Linked DNA regions of Homo sapiens: regions 1 and 2 are each linked to region 3. Evidence: promoter capture Hi-C in 16 types of primary human blood cells and fetal thymus (Javierre and others, 2016). All regions are on one chromosome and are shown on one strand. The core of a region is centred on a gene start or on the middle of the fragment in contact, and the rest is flanking DNA. Distances in the headings are between cores, read along the strand shown.

Region 1 (2,774 bases), core at 196-2,695, 210 kb after region 3:
TTGACCTTCTGCCCGCCCTGGTGGGTGCCACTGCACCTGTCCTCAATGTCCCCTTTCTTTCTGTTTAGTTTTACTGTTTCCTGGAGCTCTTCTGAGGCAGTCAGTGTCCAGGCAGGCAAGTGAGTTGTGGTGGGGTAGAGGGTGAGAGGACACTGTTAGACCACCTGGGTGTCACAGAAAGTTTGCTGCAGTCGAGAAGCCTGAAGGAAGGGTGGGGGCTGGGGTGGAGGAGTGTATGGCGAAAGACAACAGTGGTGTGGTGGAGTCCACTGCCTAGGAAAGCACAGACGCACCTCCAGGCGACCCTGCAGACTGGGGTCGGGAAAAGGACAGGCTGAGAAGTCTAGAAAGGCAAAGAAGTTAACGATGTTTGGCAGTCTGAGGTCTTATCAGTGTGTTGGGGTCAGGTGGGGGCCGAGGCAACAAGCTCAGGCAGACGCCAGCCGGGGCTGGGACGGTGCAGGTGAGGAGGGGCTGCCTGGGGGACAGCCCGCCTCACTGACCCAACCTGGGACAAGGTAGTGGCTGGGTTAGGGGCTGGGGTGTGTCTTGGAGCCCCCAGGTGACAGGAGAGGGAGGAAGGGAGTGACTGGTGAAACATTAACCCCCTCAGGGTTCTGAAGGGAAGGGGAACATCCTTAGAGGACACAGGGAGAAGACAAACGTCCCTTCATCCTGAGATTCACTTGGAAATCCCCTGAACTTCCAACTCCTGGCTGATGAAACGGAGCAAGTTGTCTCTGCCTTATGGCCTCCATCACCAAGCCTGAAGGAGAGTCTCTCAGCCCGGTTTGGGAGTAAACCCAAAACCGTTCATTCGTCAGGGAATGCCCCAGGTTGGTTCACGCGAGTTTTAAAATGAATCGGAGGTGAAATGGAGCTCATTACCCTCTCTTCAGCCCGACCCTCAATCTTTGGCAGCGAGGGGCAGTTATGGGACGGGGGGCGGGTGGGAAGAGCGCCCAGGGCCCCCTCCGGGTTCTCCCACGGTTTCCCGCATCTGGGCCTGGCCAGCGCCTTTGGGAGGAAGGGCCTAGGCGCGGTAGGGATGCCTGGGAGTCTAGGGAGTGGCGGGGGTGTTTCTTGGCCCGGCAGGGTGGGGTTTCCAAGCGTGATCTCCTCGCCCTGGCAGAGCCGGGGTGCCGGGTGGGGGCAGGCTCGGGGGCCTGCCTGCGGTGAATCAGGCTTGTGACCTCAGGCCGTCCAGGTAAACATCCTCTGCGCTTTGGAAACTGTTGGGACTAGAAAGGAGCGGGCGGCAGGGAGAGGGAAGGGGGAAGGAGGGATTCTGAGTGGAGGAGACCTCTGAAATCCTCTCTCCTGCCAGGAAACCAGGGCGGTCTTCCAAGCGGGCAGCCACGTTGCCTACTTGAGGCCAAGGCAGAAGCATCAATCACATGGGGCGTAGTTTCTGTCTGGCTAAAGAACGGCTCACGCGGACCTCGGGAATGCGACTGTGGAAACGACGGGGAAGCTGGAAGGGCTGGGTGGCGGGGGAAGCTGGAGGGCACAGCTTCCAGATTCCAGTTTGTTAAGAATCACCTGAAGGACGTTTCTCTGAAGGGAAAGTGGGCATCTGTGAAGGGTTAGAGGCACATACTTCAACTTTCCCTAGCACAAGAGTGGAAATCCATACTCCTTGGGGAGGGACTTTGTCACTGAACCTTAAGAAAATGGTTACTGGACTGAGCTTGGTTACTTATGCCTGTAATCCTGACGTTTTGGTAGATGGAAGTGGGAGCATCGATTGAGGCCAGGAGTTCTAGCCTAGGCAATGTAGTGAGACTCTCATCGAAAAGAAAATAAAAAAAAGAAGAAAGAATCTCGTGGCTGTCATTTTTAATGTTGCTGGTGTGCAGGGAGGCTGTTTTGACTCTTATTTCCATTCTTGGGCCACCGGCAGAGCAGGGCAAAGCTATGAGGTTACATAGACCTGGCTTAGACCCCAGTCCCATTCCCCAGCAGCTTCAGGCCCAAGCAACGGTCTCCATCTCCCTGAACACAGTCTCCTTATAGGTAAAATAACTGCAGAGTTGATGCTGGAATTAAATCAATGCAGTGGCGAGCCCAGCGCTGCAGAGCCCCGTGCTTAGTGACCAAAATAATGTCCCGCCTGCCTCATCTTCCTCTCGGATTTTTGCCAAGGCCAAACTGCGCGTGTCCCAGAAAAAAACCCTCGGACACTTGGCCTCTGCCCTGTCTCAGCCGAGTGACTAGGATGACTGGGAAGTGAATCACAGGAAAATCACCCAAGCCCACTCTTCTCCACAGCCGGTGAGCAGAAGGAAGGAAGCAAAGAAGGAAGGGAGGAAGGGAAGAAGGGAGAGTTCAGTTCCCTTTCGTCGTTCACACAGTGGTCCTCCACACCAGGAAACCTAAGGGCTCTGTGGAGGGCCAGGTGCCGTGGCAGCAACACTCCTCAGGGCCTGTTTCAGCACCCCATTTACGTGGCACATGAAAAATTCAGGATGAACGCCCTGGCTGAAAGCTCTTCCTGGGTTTGGGACATCAGAAGACCTTCCCGGGATGGGCTCTTGTCTCTGCAGTAGCTATGACCTGCACATAAACCTGTTTCCTACACTGTAAAATTGGCGTAACCACCATTCCCTCCCAGTCTTTCTCTGGAGTCCTAATGGGAACAGTGACGGAATGAAAGTGACCACGCTGGAACCCGAAGCGCTGTTCCCCTCCGTGGCTTCACACTGATCTCCACACTAGAATTCCGTGTCTGCAGTTCAAGTTCAAACTACTGTGGTCGGGGAAGGGCTACAGAG
Region 2 (3,130 bases), core at 500-2,999, 170 kb before region 3:
CCAGCCATGGGTAACATGGTGAAACCTTGTCTCCACAAAAAAAAAAAAAAAAAAAAAAAAAAAAAAAAGCCAGGCATGGTGGTGCATGCATGCCTGTAGTCCCAGCTACTTGGGAGGCTGAAGTGGGAGGATCCCTTGAGCCTGTGAGGTTGAGGCAGCAGTGAGCCATGATCATACCACTGCACTCCAGCCTGGGTAACACAGCAAGACCCTGTCTCAAAAAAAAAAAGAAAAGAAAAAGAAAAAAAGAAAGGAAAAATAATTCTATTTCCCAATTATAAAAAAATGATTAACATTTATTAGCACTTACATGTTAGGCATTGTGCTAGATATACACATATACATATGCATATACATCATATATATTTTTTTGAGACAGAGTCTCACTCTGTCACCCAGGCTGGAGTGCAGTGCACAATCTCCATTCACTGCAACCTCTGCCTCCTGGGTTCACGCGATTCTCGTACCTCAGCCTCCTGAGTAGCTAGGATTACAAACGTGTGCCACCATACCCAGTTAATTTTTTATCTTTTAGTAGAGATGGGGTTTTCCCATGTTGGCAAGGTTGGTCTTGAGCTCCTTGCCTCAAGTGATTTACCCACCTCAGCCTCCCAAAGTGCTGGGATTACAGGCATGAGCCACCACGTCTGGCCCTGTGCTAGGTATATGTTTTACATGTGTTATTTTATTTATTTATTCATTTTTGAGACGGAGTTTTGCTCTTGTTGCCCAGGCTGGAGTGTAATGGTGCAGTCTTGGCTCACCGCAACCTCCGCCTCCCAGGTTCAAGTGATTCTCCTGCCTCAGCCTCCCGAGTAGCTGGGATTACAGTCATGTGCCACCATGCCCGGCTAATTTTGTATTTTTAGTAGACAGGGGTTTCTCCATGTTGGTTAGGCTGGTCTCGAACTCCTGACCTCAGGTGATTTGCCTGCCTTGGCCTCCCAAAGTGCTGGGATTACAGGCGTGAGCCACCATGCCCGGCACATGTATTATTTTATTTAATCTTCATAAAAACCCTAGGAGGTCAGTATTTTTTTAAGACAAGGTTGCATTCTGTCACATAGGCTGGAATGCAGTGGTGCAATCATAGCTTATTGTAAACTTGAACTCCTGGGCTCAAGCAATCTTCCTGCCTCAGCCTCCGAAGTAGCTGGGACTATAGGTGTGCACCACCACACCTGGCTAATTTCCTTTATTTTTCATTTTAGTAGATACAAATTCTCACTATGTTGCCCAGACTGGTCTCGAACTTCTGGCCTCAAGTGATCCTCCTGCTTTGGCCTCCCCAAAGCACTGGGATTACAGGCATGAGCCACTATGCCCAGCCCAGGACTACTATTATCCTCATTTTACACATGAGGAAACTCAAACTCAGGAAGGTCAAACAACTTGGCCAAGATCACATAGCTACTAAGTGGCAGAACCAAGATTTGTATCCAGGTTGTATTAGTCCATTTTCACACTGCTATAAAGATACTACCTGAGACTGGGTAATTTATAAATAAAAGAGGTTTAACTGACTCACACTTCCACATGGCTGCGGAGGCCTCAGGAAACTTAAAACCATGGTGGAAGGTGAAAGGGAAGCAAGCACCTTCTTCACAGGGTGGCAGGAGAGAGAGAGAACATGAGAGAAGTGGGAAGCACTAGACACTTATCAAACAACCAGATCTTGTGAGAACCCACTCACTATCATGAGAGCAGCAAGGGGCAAATCTGCTCCCACGATCTAATCACCTCCCACCAGGTCCCTCCCTTGACATGTGGGGTTTATAATTCAAGATGAGATTTGGGTGGGGGGACAGAGCCAAACCATATCACAGGTCTACTTGGTTCCAGAGCCCAAGCTCTTAAATTCCATATTAACTGCTTTCCTATTGGCTGTAATATATAAAAAAAAATAAATCTGGTACTTAAGAGAAGATACAGTTGTTTTGTTAGATAGCCTATGGGCATGAATCAACCCTAATATGAATATTAGGGAGTGGTTAGACAGAGGTCTTTAACCTGAAGTCCATAGTTTAGGCTTCAGGGGATTTCCTAAACTCTCTAAAATTGTGGGTGAAATGTAACACTTGTTTTCTTTTCTCTTGGAGAAGAGTCTATAGACCTCATTAGTGTCAATAACTCACCCTTGCCCCACACCCACCAAAAATGATATGACCCACTGAATTAGGTGAATAGAGTTGTAATGGCATTATAAAACTAGCTACCCAGAAAGGCCAACATCTGTGATGTTATAACTCTAGAACATCTAGATGAATTTTTTTTTGCAACTGAAGTATTAAAAGTGTTATTTTACCTGTGACTTATGGAAATTTAAAACACATCATATACTCTCTGCCTTGGTAAACTCCTGCTGAACAAAATCAAATCTCTTCTTAATGACTTAAGGACATCCAAATTTGAACTTCTCTTTTTTGTTGTTTTTGAGACAGGGTCTTGCTCTGCTGCCCATGCTGGAGCGTAGTGACACAATCTCAGCTCACTGCAACTTCTGCCTCCCAGGCTCAAGCCATCGTTCCACCTTAGCTTCTTGAGTATCTGGGACTACAGGCACGCTCCACCATGCCTGGCTAATTTTTGTTTTTTTTTTTTTTGTACAGACAGGGTTTCACCATGTTGCCCAGACTGGTCTTGAACTCCTGGACTCAAGCAATCTGCCTGCTTGGCCTCCCAAAGTGCTGAGATTACAGATGTGAGCCATTGCATTCAGCCTGAACTTCCTTTTTGTACTAAAACAGCAATGCCTTCTGAATGCATAGGCTGTCTGCAATACTCAGTGTCCAAAGACTTCTATCTCTCTCTTGACCATCTCTGTTCTCTGATAATGGCTGTCTCCAAACAGACTGCAAAGGCTAACACTGAAGAGTTATCCTGCATTGAAAATGGAATCTTAGGATTCAGACGGACACCTAGTTGGGCATGGATTCCATGCAAGTTGATAAGGCTAGGAAAACCCCTTGCAACTGATCTTGAGCAGTCAGCCACATGGTAGAAGTTTATTTATGCCCAAGGAAATGGCTTTGCTGAGCAATGCTAAGAGTCTGTACACTAAATATTTCCTATAATTCTTTTTCTCACTTGGAAAGATTCACATTGCTTCCAAATTATCTTCTGAAAGTGT
Region 3 (2,767 bases), core at 237-2,736:
TTTTTCTGTGTGAATTTTAAAAGATAACCGAGTGCCCAATATTTTAGAAGAAGAAGAAAGGGAGTGGATTAAACGCTAATTCAGTAATACCTGAATTTTAGCAAAACACATAAGTCTATGCGACTGAGGGTGGGAGAGGCTCGATTTTTCCAGTAGACGGCCAAGGAGCGCGGGGGTCGAAAGGACCGGGAGGAGGAAACAGGTTAGGGAAACTGCAGGTCGATGGCACAGAGCGTACTGGTGAAAAAATCCAGCTCTTCCTCGGAAAAAGGGACCGGGCTGTCGAGAGAACCCTGTAGGCTAGGGGAGAGGCCTCCGGATAGCTGGAGACAGGAGTCGGCCGCGAAGAAGTTGAGGTCGGGAAGGAAAGGTGAATCCTGGCGCCCCGAGAAGACGTCTTCTGGCAATGGCCCGGGCTCCAGCCCGCCGGCCCCGCGCAGCGCGCAGCCGGGACTCGACGCGCCTGCGCCCTCTAAGCGAACGGCTAAAGGCCGGGGGTCCGCGCTTAAGGCCCCCGGCACCACCTCCGGCGGGTGACAGCAGGCTTCCCACGCCGCCCGCGAGGCGGAGGGGCCGCCCGGGCTGGCCGCGGGTTCCTCGGCAGGGTCGCAGATGTCCTCCAGGGCTCCCGGGCAGGCAGGCTCCCCATCCGGCGGCTCTCGGTGCTGCGTCTGCCGCTTGTGCTTCATGCGCCGGTTCTGAAACCAGACTTTGACCTGCCTTTCGGTGAGGTCCAGCAAGGCCGCGATCTCGACGCGGCGTGGCCGGCACAGGTACTTATTAAAGTGGAATTCCTTCTCCAGTTCCAGCAGCTGCGTGTTGGTGTAAGCCGTGCGCAGCCTGCGCGCCCCGCCGCCACCAGCCTCCGGCAGTCCCAGGCCATCTGCAGGGAAAACAGGCTCGGCGTCATAGCGGGCCGTGTACTCAGCCCAACCTCAGTTCGGACTACCCCATCCTCCAAAACCAGTATCACCTCTCCCCTTCCTCGCCACCCCACCCCCGCCCCCACCCCAAAGCCGCTCGCTTTACTGCTTTTGGGTTTTCTTCTCTCCCTCTCTAGTCTACAGCCCCGGCCCGGGTCAGGGCAAAGCATTCAGAGCCGCCCACGGGCCACGCAGGGGGCGGAGAGCGGCTCCCTTCGGCGCCGGAACCTCAGATCCCCCTCCCAAGCCCTCCCAGTGGACCCCTCAATTCGGAACTTTCCAACTCAACCGGAGCGAGGGTCAGAAAGATTGTTCTTCACCCCTCTTCCTCCCTAGCTCTGAATTCTTCCTCTTCTCCTAGAGTTGGGGCAGAAAGGACCGAATCTTTTCTGCTTCTAGGGTCTATCCCAGCAACAACATACTCATTCCCCTACACAGATACGGGTGAAAACCTCAATCAAATCATTTTCTTCTAGCAGAAAAAAAGGCGTTTCCCCAACCAGCTTCCAAAATCAGCCATAGGGAGAGAAAGAGAGAGAGAGACAGAAAAAAAAAAAGACGCTGTTAGCGGCCAGGCCTGAACCCCAGTGGGATATTCTACTTCCCCATCCCAGGAATGGAGGGGGTAAGGAACCCCAACAGGCTCGCCACCATTTTTTTTAAACCTCCTTCCACTGCTTTTTCTCCCCCTCTTCTAGCTGCCCCTCACCCCACCCCCACCACGCTTACCGACCTGCAGGCGATCCGACCCCGGAGGCCGGAACGGCGGAGGCGGCCGGAGAAGGAGACGTGGCGGATTGGCTGGGTTTCTTGGCGGATTTCTTCTCTTTCATCCAAGGGAACTCGGGGGCCGGGGGGGCAGCGGGGAGTGGCGGCGGCGGTGGCGGCGGCAGAGCAGGCCCATCTTCGGCTCGCTTTTGGCTCCTGGGTCTCTGAAGGGTGGAGGCGCCGGGCTGGAGGCTGGGGAAGGTTTGCTCGAAAGGAGGAGGAGGAGGAATTAATGTCGACTCCTTGATTGATGAAGTTTGAAATGTCTCCAAGACAGCGGGGAAGGAAGTCAGACACTCGGCGAGCGACGGCTGGCTGTTTATAAACCCAATCTCCCTCTCAAATTCAAAATTCATGGCTTTCAATGGTGGGGGAGGGGGCTGCTGGGGGGGGCGTCAGGAGGGAGGATCGGAAGGGACCCCCCTCCTGCACCCCCCCCGATTTATGTAATGGAGCGATTTTGGGAGGGGGAGATTTCGGTCTCTCTTTTTTTTAATTTTGGGCCTTTATAATTGTATATTGCTGATAAATACAAGCGTATGGGGACTCTCTCTATTAAACCCAGGACTCCAGCGAAATTACAGGGAATTCGTGGTCACGGGACCGGCCTCCGCCAATCGCTCGTCTGGGCCTGGTGGAAAACAGAGAGCATTATTTGGTTTAATTGATTCAAAAACACCAGAGGACCACGACCAGGACACCATGAGCCCCCATTCCTACACCAGTGCCTCACATGCTCTCTCCCCAATGCCTCCGTTTCTCCAGAAAAGCTAGAGGAACCTTTTCCTCATCCCCTTCGAAGGTTAGAAGGTTTCAGAAGCCTGGAAAAGAAGAGACTCTAAGGGAGAAACCTTCCTCTTTTCCAAGTATTTTAATAGAGTAAATTAAGGCCTTCTTTACGTGGCCAGCAGCATCCCCTTCCCTTCTCCCCTTCCCCAGGAAAAGATGAGTGAGGATCTCCGCGTTGGAGGAAGAGGGAGTCGAAAGAGGCTTCCACTCTTTGAAAAAGGTCAGTATTAAGGTGAAAATAAGAAAGAGATTTACAATCATCACACCACTATCCCTGTTACCCTCCA

The links. Contacts are between HindIII fragments. The CHiCAGO score rates a contact against its expected background, and 5 or more counts as called.
Region 1: a fragment that was not itself captured here is called in contact with the fragment with the promoter of HOXB-AS1 in region 3 in 1 of 17 cell types (total B cells); the score reaches 5.4 in total B cells.
Region 2: a contact is called between a fragment that was not itself captured here and the fragment with the promoter of HOXB-AS1 in region 3, in 1 of 17 cell types (total CD8 T cells). The highest score is 5.2, in total CD8 T cells.

The regions. Positions count from the first base shown.
Region 1 is chr17:48,751,788-48,754,561 of GRCh38, forward strand. LOC105371812 (a long non-coding RNA gene) reads left to right here and starts at 641. Exons shown (of 2, transcript XR_007065830.1): 1 at 641-836; 2 at 1,328-2,774. RefSeq lists enhancers at 830-1,747, 1,800-2,774. The HindIII fragment of the contact is 2,934 bases long and covers 1-2,774 here.
Region 2 is chr17:48,371,619-48,374,748 of GRCh38, forward strand. The region is part of intron 2 of SKAP1 (src kinase associated phosphoprotein 1); the gene reads right to left. Among named protein-coding and RNA genes, the nearest start is that of SKAP1, 57 kb to the right of the region's middle. The HindIII fragment of the contact is 4,305 bases long and covers 1-3,130 here.
Region 3 is chr17:48,542,865-48,545,631 of GRCh38, forward strand. It overlaps HOXB-AS1 (HOXB cluster antisense RNA 1), which reads left to right and starts at 1,487. Exons shown (of 7, transcript NR_102279.1): 1 at 1,487-1,548; 2 at 2,257-2,493; 3 at 2,631-2,700. HOXB2 (homeobox B2) reads right to left here and starts at 2,245. Exons shown (of 2, transcript NM_002145.4): 1 at 1,657-2,245; 2 at 1-883. The coding sequence starts at 2,047. The coding sequence ends at 204. RefSeq lists a silencer at 371-660 and an enhancer at 468-1,113. The HindIII fragment of the contact is 10,206 bases long and covers 1-2,767 here.